2 separate regions of the Homo sapiens genome follow, and region 2 is linked to region 1. Evidence: promoter capture Hi-C in 16 types of primary human blood cells and fetal thymus (Javierre and others, 2016). All regions are on one chromosome and are shown on one strand. Each heading gives the region's core, a stretch centred on a gene start or on the middle of the fragment in contact. The rest is flanking DNA. Distances are from core to core; before and after follow the strand shown.

The links. Contacts are between HindIII fragments. The CHiCAGO score rates a contact against its expected background, and 5 or more counts as called.
Region 2: a fragment that was not itself captured here is called in contact with the fragment with the promoter of MRPL3 in region 1 in 1 of 17 cell types (total CD8 T cells); the score reaches 5.1 in total CD8 T cells.

The regions. Positions count from the first base shown.
Region 1 is chr3:131,501,721-131,506,757 of GRCh38, reverse strand. MRPL3 (mitochondrial ribosomal protein L3) reads left to right here and starts at 3,787. Exons shown (of 10, transcript NM_007208.4): 1 at 3,787-4,028. The coding sequence starts at 3,937. It overlaps LOC105374114 (a long non-coding RNA gene), which reads right to left and starts at 4,159. Exons shown (of 3, transcript NR_189111.1): 1 at 4,054-4,159. RefSeq lists enhancers at 3,889-3,958, 3,465-4,151. The HindIII fragment of the contact is 1,488 bases long and covers 3,000-4,487 here.
Region 2 is chr3:132,672,381-132,677,132 of GRCh38, reverse strand. It overlaps UBA5 (ubiquitin like modifier activating enzyme 5), which reads right to left. Exons shown (of 12, transcript NM_024818.6): 9 at 1,750-1,885; 10 at 1,453-1,528; 11 at 1,210-1,316; 12 at 1-690. The coding sequence ends at 607. All of the region lies in intron 26 of NPHP3-ACAD11 (NPHP3-ACAD11 readthrough (NMD candidate)), which reads left to right. Among named protein-coding and RNA genes, the nearest start is that of UBA5, 14 kb to the right of the region's middle. The HindIII fragment of the contact is 1,347 bases long and covers 2,829-4,175 here.

The sequences.
Region 1 (5,037 bases), core at 2,538-5,037:
CTATACTCTGGCCATCAAAACTACACTGGCATTGGGAGGAAGACCAGGGAGGAAGAGATGTCCTTTTGAAAAGCATTGGTTCCCTGGCATGTGATGCTACATTGTCTGTTGCTAATATTTTTTCTAAGTAATCAAAGAACTTTAAAAAATGGACATTGGTATAATTACATTAAGTTTTGAAACCTTAAACCCAGATTACTACATGGCCATACTGCTTTTTTCTATTTTTTTAAGGCTTTCTTCAAGCCAAATGAATTTTAATTCTGATCATCTCTTGGAACCCTAAAGTCTGTGGGCTTACTTGGGAATTTACAAATAAAAATTATGTTTTAAAAGCAATATATTAAAGTTACAAATTGTGATTTGGCCTTACTGAAGGACATTGAAGCAGAATTCATTCTCTTACTGAATGAGTATCTGTGGATTTTGCAATACAGCCTTTCAAATTTTCTATTTCAGCCAGCAATGAAATCTTAAAGTTCAAAAATCTCTTAAAGTTTATTTTATCTATATCCCCATTGAATGCTTGACTCACTTTCATAACATCTTTACTGATTTTAAAATATGCTAGATTCTCACAACTTGAGAAAAATGGAGAAAAAAAAGGATAACTTAGTAAATCCAAACTCATTGTTTAAAAGATTTCTAATTTCAAATATAAGGTATGTTATAAACTAAGAGACAGCATAAATGAATACTAAAGTGGAAATTACCCAACACAAAATTTACCATCTTGCAATAATCCAACTATACAGGATATATCACAAACATTATAAGAGCTAATGGTAGAGCCTAATGGCAGGAACACATATAAAAGATTATTTCCAGTGAACTCTTGCTTTGAAATCTGCTCCTTCTATGATGATTCTCTTGTATTGAACATGGCTTTAGTAATTCAAAAATGAATCTATTCCTAATGTTTTATTTAATAAGAGAAGGTTTATGAGATCATCTGTTGGTCTGAATTAGCGGAGTAAGAGTTATAGAACTGTACCACTAAAAAGAGAAAGTGCAAGTTATCTTCGTTCCAATAAGGAATTGAAATCTTAGAGAGGCAAAATGGCATTACAGTTTCAGGGTCTAAGGCAGTGTCTGAAGGATGACATCAGAAATAACAGGAAGCTCTAGGTCAGTGCCTGACTGCCCTAGAAAAGCCTAGGCTGGGTCCCTTGACAACTGGGCCTAGTAGCTGTCAGCAGCATATTACAGTGACTAAATCAAGTATGACACCACTCAGCCCTGGCTGGCAATCAGGAGACACATTTTTTACGACAGCAGACAAACCATGTTTTACTTTGATTCAGTTCAGCGGTGGTGCCTGCTGTCAAGGTCCTCCTTATGGACTAGGAGATATTTGGTACTATGGGAAAAGGTTAGACCAAATGGCTACCTCTTCAATCCTCACTGACCACTGCGTGTGATTACTTACCGATTTTCCTCTTTAGCCTTAAAGAAATTCCAAGGCAAGAGTAGTGACATATTTGTCATAGAGAGCCAAAGAAACAAAATGTCTAAAAGCATAAGCTCTATCTATGGTCACAGTCTTTGGCTCTACCAGTTAATAGCTGGGTGATTTTATTTAAGTTATGTAATCTCTGTATGCCTATTTTCTTAACTGTAAGATCCAGATAATTATACTATTGTCACAGCAGATTGTCATAACAATCAAGTGAGAAAATACACTGAGAGAGTAAAAATGAATACTATTAGTAACTGGACTGCAGTGTTTATAGCAGAACATCAATACAATATTTCTTTTTTTTTTTTTTGAGACGGAGTCTTGCTCTGTCACCCAGGCTGGAGTGCAGTGGCTCAATCTCGCTCACTGCAAGCTGCGCCTCCCAGGTTCACACCATTCTCCTGCCTCAGCCTCCTGAGTAGCTGGGACTACAGGCACCCGCCACTACGCCCGGCTAATTTTTTTTTGTATTTTTAGTAGAGAAGGGGTTTCACCATGTCAGCCAGGATGGTCTCAATCTCCTGACCTCGTGATCCACCCGCCTTGGCATCCCAAAGTGCTGAGCCACCACGCCCAGCCCATCATTACAATATTTCTTACAGACCGTACTGTAGGCCACACCACTGCAGCAAAATGACTAACAGTTCCTTATTCTGAGTGATTCCTGCTTTCTTATGAACATCATGCCCACTTCCTCTCTGTTCTTCCTGTCTCTAGAACAAAGACTATCAAGATATCCAATTGCTGAACTGTCCTTTCTTCTTGACAGCACCCATTCTAAAACAAGTTCCTGCTTCTCTGATGCCACTTTAAAATCACTCAGCCTTAAGTCCAAATTTCATTTCAAGCCCCTCCCAGGTCACTCTTTTGGAAACATCCTCAGACATATGCTGTCTTTTGCTGCATCAAGCTAATTAAACTTGACTTTGTATGAGTTCACGTTTTCTTCTAGTAGCCTTGGCTTATGGGCTTCCACAATGCTGAGCACATACTCTAGCACACTATATGGATAAGAAATGTTAGTTATTGGCAGTAGTACAGAAATCTTCTTATTCTCAACTTCTTGCATGTAGCACACCTCAAAACATGTTTGTTCAATGAAGAGCCATCCTTAAGTATCTGGGAAGCCAGGCAGCATGGCTAGAATGAAGAGATGTAGTTTTTCCTTCAAGGTCCAAAGTATTATTGAAAAGTGTCTAAGGTAACTGCAACAGCAATGAGTGGAATGAATGGACAAGCAAAGCAAAGATTTTTTAGCCCACTAAAGTCCAAGTAATGGCCAGGAATTGACCATTGTCTGGACCTGTTAAACCAAGATAGCCAGATCTCTAGTAAAAAGAGAAGGTTGAAATAGCTACACTTTAAAGTTCTTATTTCCAAATTTCTACAAACAGTAATCTGACAAATAAGGGAATTAGTAGAAGAATAAATGTCCTAGTCACATACATGGTTATTAGGCTAGATCTGGAACCCAAGACAGGGGATTTTTTGTGCAGGTGTATTAGCTATCTATTATTGCATAACAAATTACCCTAAAGCTTAATGACTCAAAAAAACGGTAATCATTTATTTTCTCTGGCAATTTCTCCTAGTCAGTAATTCATGAGCGGCCTGGCTGGGAGATTCAGGCTTAACGTCTCCATGAGTTGCAGCCGAGGACTGGTGGATCCACTTCCTAGGTGGCTCAGTCATGACTGGCTAGTTGATTCCTCTTTATATGTTCCTCCCTGCAGAGCTGTTTGAGTGTCTGCAGGAAATGAAGGCTAGCTTTCTCCACAGGGAGCAATCCAAGAGACAAAAACTGAAGTAACAATATGTTTTATGATCCAGCCCTAGAAGGCATACATCATTTCTATGGGTGTAGTCTATTGATAACACATGCCAACCCTGTTTCAGTGCCAACTCTGCTCCTCTGCCAGATGTGTTGTTTTGGACCAGCACCTAAATTCTGAGTCAGTTTCCTCATTTATAATAGAAAAATAAATACTTCCTTTCAGGACCGTTTTTTATGATTAACAAATATAGGATTATGAAGCGCTGCTTAGCATAATGCATTGCCTCACAACGGGCACTATTTAGAAGTGTCTTCATTTTCCTTAGCGTCCTCAGGAAGTCTGTCCTTATTCTTCTAAAGTTTAAACTCTGAACATCCCTTTTATTTTACCCCTGGAGAGGCGAGTCAGTCCCTTCCCACCCCTACCTACTCCAACTCACATCCAAAGTAGGACAACGGTGGAAGCAGAACTATAGTTTCCGGGGAGCGACTCGAGTGCCCGGAGTTCATTGTAAAACGCACCGGAAGTGGGTCCGGCGGCTTTCTTTCCGTCGCAGAGAGCATCGGCCGGCGACCGTTCCGGCGGCCATTGCGAAAACTTCCCCACGGCTACTGCGTCCACGTGGCGGTGGCGTGGGGACTCCCTGAAAGCAGAGCGGCAGGGCGCCCGGAAGTCGTGAGTCGAGTCTTCCCGGGCTAATCCATGCCGGGTTGGAGGCTGCTGACGCAGGTCGGCGCCCAGGTGCTGGGTCGACTCGGGGACGGCCTGGGTGCTGCCCTGGGCCCGGGGAACAGGTAGGAAGGTGTGAGGGTGTCCTACCTGCACAGTTGCGTCCTGAAGCAGTGGAATGGCCTGGTGCAGTTGGGCCTCCCCTGGGTGGAGGAGGAAGGGGCTCTGTTGAGACGTGGGACACAGAAGAATAAGGGCCGTTAACCTAAGGAAGCACGTTCTAAGGGGATTGAAGTGGTGATTTTTAAAAAACGCTTATGAGCCAGCCACTAGCAGCGAACGCTATTAACAGCAATCATATCTTACAATTAGTGAGCGTTTGCCAGGTACTAAGCGCTCTGCTAAGTGTATTAGGTGCCTTATGTAGCCTCACGGGAGCAAACTGCTATCATAAGGTTTACAGATAAAACTGAAGGTTAGGGAGGTGAGTTAATTTGCCCAAAGTCACTCAACTAATAAGTGGAAAATTAGGAATCTAGCCTGAATTTATCTGACTACAAAAGGAGAGTAGACTGCAGAAAGCTTTACTTCTGTTCTGACCCTCCATGCAAGAATTACACCCCTTCTTCCTGACCTCCGCCCACTAAGGTCTTTCTTGGTATGTTCACCTGTTCAGAGGTCATGCCTTTTGTGGATCTTTTAACTTTGCACACCCAGTTTCTTCACTTCTCTGAACCTAGGCCATGTCATTGCAGGGAGGAGGTGAGCTTGTTAGACAAAGATCAACATGCCACCTTCTGCCACCTCCACTGAATGTAAAACTATTAAGGTACACTTCCAAATGGGTTAGTGGCTTTTCATGTCTATAGGTAGGACTGTTTTTTGGGGAATATGTTTATCTGCGAGGAGAAGATGAATTTTTTTCTCCAGGGTAACGACTAACAGTTTAAATGTGAGCCTTATCCGAAGGAATGTGGGGAGTGAGGAAAAGGTTGGAGACCTGAAAAAAAGGTATACAGAATCCAAGCCCTTTCCCAAGGCCCTGACTACACTTTCCAATTTGTGACTTCCCTTTTCTATATTAAGTGGAGGAAGTTTTTAAATTGTGGTTTGGTTTTATTTATTTTTTCTTTT
Region 2 (4,752 bases), core at 2,253-4,752, 1.2 Mb before region 1:
ATCCACAGGTTACAGACTTTTCCAATAACTACATTTCAACTTGTACTTCATCAGCAAACATTTGAGAGGATGTTATTTCATAGGTTAACTATTTTGAATTCATTGTTGATCAAGTTAGTAGTAGTGGGCAATTTTCTTATAGAAAGCAATTCCAAACATAATGAGCAGATGCTTGCCAGCTCTAATCAATAAGCTGTATGCCTTGTCCTTCTCCCTGTATCTGAGGATCATATACTACTTTATTGTCCATGTCCTCATGCAACAGACACAAGGGATTACTGGAAAGAAAAAGATTACAGGATCAGATTTGTCCTTCCCCCACTCCAAAAGGCCAAAACATTTCAACAGCTATGTTTTCAAGTAAGATTTATATCCTACAATATCCTTTGAGGTTTTCTTACTAGAATGAAACACATTTTAGGAGAGTTAATGATTTCGTTGGAGCGGGGAGAAACAGGCAAGTCACAGGATTTTCAAAAAGTATAACAATTCAGGTAAGAATATACATTAATTAATGTTGCCCTAAGTTTTATCAGTTAAAATTTTTTTTTAATTTCAAGGGAAGAGGCTTTAACATGAGAAATACAATATATCCCAGTCCATTATCTACATATTCTTCATTTTGGCCATGAGGTCTTCCAAGCTTTCACCAGAATCTTCCACTGTTAACTCAGTGACAGAATCTTCTTGCTATTGACAAATAAGGGAAATACAGTGAAAAAAGAACCATATAGAATTCTTGATGCTTAGGAATATATAATCAGCAAGTTTTGACCATGCTCAACAAGGTTATAAAGTAAATTTTCTTTAACAACTATCTTCTAATTTTTAGAAGAAAGACAGAGTCTTTTACATTCCTCACCAGTCTTTTGATTTACAAGGCAGTAATTTCAATATTCTTGACAGCTCTAGCTTTTTAAACGACATCGTAGCTAAAACTACCGATAAACAAAAATGAGATCTTCATTTAATCAAAATCTACTATACTTGGTTCATTAATGAGTGAACAAAACCATTTTATTCTATGTTTTAAAAGTTTAAGCTATAAATATTTGCATATTAACACTGCATACCTCTCTCTCACATCTTAATGCCTATAGCATAAAATATCTAAAACAGGAAATACTTCATTGGCATTACAAATTAGAATGAAGATGATAAATATTTTATATGATATTTACATATGGGTAAATCATATTTTTGAAGTACCTTTTTTGGAATTGTGTATGCCACTGTAATTCCTTCAGGTAAGTCTGGAACTGGACCTGAAAAATTTTTCAGTTCCTCTTCTGAAACCTCAGATACCAGCTCAATACCTGTAAATTTGATCCTATGTCAGTTTTTAAGGAATTTAATAAGCAATAATTATTCAATTTGTATAATCTTATTAGATTTGCTACCATAAAAGGTTTTGTTTTATACTGCCATTTCAATTTATAAAAGAATACCTACCCCATTCATTATCTTCATGGATTATCTCTTCCTCTTCTTGTATAACCTCTTGTTTAGGCAGTGCTGCTACCTTTTTCTGTAGAAATCAAACAGCATCAAAGTGTTCTTACTCATTCTCAGTTCTCTAAAGCATTAATCAAGAATTCAGACAGGCTTTTTATCTTACCAAAAGCAAGAAAGAACATTCATTTTTGAAGTATGGTGAATAAATTAACCATTTATCTTGTATTCCAAATCTGTTTATGTATTGTCCTATTCAATATGATCCCTCATGCATTCTAACAGATTGTCATATACCTTATATTCCTCCTGCTGCTTCCTGCAATTTCTGTCATCACACTGAGGATTTGGCTTCATGGACATAGTAGGAAAAAAATCCTGCATTGCATTGTATCCAAGGTAAAAACTAACAGTACCAAAATTTAACAGAAACCTAGAAAAATCAAAATAGACTTAAATAAAGAAATTTAAAACATGAAAAATACTAGAACACCTAAATTTTTTAAAAATAACGTTGAAATAGGTAATTATATATTTTTTTTAACCAGAAAACAGAAATCTGCATCCAGAAAACAGAAATTTTATCTTATTTACAGTGCCTGGCTCATAGTAGATACTTCAGTGTTTATTGAATGAAGGAAAGAAAAGATTACTCCATTTCATCAACTGTAGAACACACTATTTTTTTGAACCTCTAATAAAGATAAAATGCTGGCAGCTAAACAATTACACGTCAACAACTTCAAGAAGCATGCTGATTTCAGAGAAGCTAAAATGTGGGAGAAGTGTATTTTTTAAATCCCTGAGATAATTAAGAAAGCTACTTAATTTTAACATTTTGTATGTAACTTACTATAAAATGCACAATCTTAAATGTATAGCTCAATAAAATTTTGTATGAGCCTTTCATGTAACCATCACCAGATCAAGATACAGAACATTTTCAGCATCCCATGTGCCTCCAGCTCCCTCCTGCCCTCTTCCCAGTCAAATCTGATACTTTTTACTCTGTTGCCCAGGCTGGAGTAAGGTGGCGTGATCATGGCTCACTGTAGCCTCGCCCTCCCAGGCTCAAGCAATCCCATCTCAGCCTCCCAAGTAGCTGCGACTACAGGCAAGCACCACCACGCTTGGCTAATTTTTGTATTTTTTTTTTGTAAAGATGGGGCTTTGCCATGTTGCCCAAGCTGGTCTCAAATTCCTGGGCTCAAGCAATCCGCCTGCCTTGGCCTCCCAAATTGTTGGGATTACAGGCGTGAGCCACTGCACCCGGCCAATCTGATGTCTTTTATTAGGTTGGCGCAAAAGTAATTGCAGTTTTTGTTAAAAGTAATGGCAAAATCCACAATTACCTTTGCACTAACATAATAAAAGCTTCTATACAGAGAAAATCACATAAAAAAGATAAATGACAAAAATATTTGCAAATACACATTCTTAATATACAAGACAAAAAAGAGCAACAACTATTAGCAGATAATTCACAGAAGAATGTAAGTGTTCAACCTTTTTCACAAATAAAAAGAAAAATTAAATGCCTGTTTTTTACCCACCAGAATGACAGATTACAGAGTTTGATGATACTCAAAGTTATCAAAGGTATGGGTGAACCAGGTACTCCTAAACTATGATACAAATGTATAATCCTTTTGCAGGAGAAATTTAGTAAATATTTCGTAAATTCAGAAATTCTACTTTAAAAAATGTGTACTATAGGCCGTGTGCAGTGGCTCATGCCTGTAACTCCTAGCACTTTAGAAGGTCGATATGGGCAGACTGCTCGAGCCCAGGAGTTCAAGACCAGCCTGGAAAACAAGGAGACTTTGTTTCTACAAAAAATACAAAAACATTAGCTGGGCGTGGTGGTGGGTGCTTGTAGTCACAGCTACCTGGGAGGCTGAGGTAGGAGGATCACTTGAACCTGGAAGACTGCAGTTAGCCGAGATTGTGCCTTTGTGCCTCTGCACTCCAGCCTGGGTGACAGAGTGAAACCCTGTTTAAAAAAAAAAAAAAAAGTACTATAGAAAACTCTAGGCTGGGCACAGTGGCTCACGCCTGTAATCCCAACACTTTGGGAGGCTGAGGTGGGCAGATTACTTGAGCTCAGGAGTTCAAGAACAGCCTGAGCAACATGGTGAAACCTTGTCTCTACAAAAAATACAAAAATTAGCCAGGCATTGTGGCATACACTCGTACTTCCAACTACTTGGAAGGCTGAGGTGGGAGGATCACTTGAGCTCAGGAGGTTGAGGCTGCAGTGAGCCATGACTGAGCCACTGAACTTCAGCTTGGGCAACACAGTGAGACCTTGTCTCCAAAAAAACAAAAAGAAGAGTGATCAATCTAGTATTCAAAGATATATACAAGATGTAGCCTATAGCATTGTTAATAAAAAAGAAAAGAATTAAGTAGCCTAAATGACCATCAATAGAGGGGCTAGCTAAATAGGACACATCCTTAAGGGAATACTTTGTTAGCCATGATTCTTTTCTCCTTTTTTGTATCATACTATAAAATGTTTTGTTTAGACAGGGCCTACTACTGTCTAAACAGGCTATTTGCTCTTATATGAAATAGCCCTAGACCATTACTTTGAGAGTTTATATGTATGCTTTTTTCAATTTCTTTGCTCGCAACTGACACTTCTTATTGATTGGTACCTCCTTGTGTCTTGTTGCAGTTTGTTCTTATTATATTGGAGGCTTAGGGAATACAACTAAGCTTATTAAAGTTGTAAAATGAGGGAAAATAAATAGCCTGAATTAGAGAACACCTAAAGGGGCTCTGCTTTTAATAAAGTATGAGTTGATTCATAAACTGTGACATAAATTTCAGCAGCAAAGAAATCTTTTTCCTTCTTTTTAGCTACAGTTTAGATAGTACAGTTGCTGGATATTTGTTTTTGGATAGCAGAGGTATCTAAAAGCAGATTTCAAGAATCTTTTTTAAGTACTGTTAATGTGTTTTATATTAACACTAATATAAATGTTAACATTTTATGTAAATGTAAAATTTACAGTAACACTAATGTTTAATTACATTAACAATAATTACTGTTTAGTCACATTGGTTTATTTTTGGTAAGACTTAAATCAAGATAGTAGAAACAAGTGTGTTTAAGTCTCCATCCACTGGACAGACTTGCAAAGATTTAAATCATTCAGTTAATGTTTCATAAATAAATATGCCACTACCATTGTATCATTTAATAAAAGCTATTCCAAATGCAGGGAGTAACTGACATTCACATATATTCACGTATGAATATGCACACATGTATTATATGTAATATTTAATATA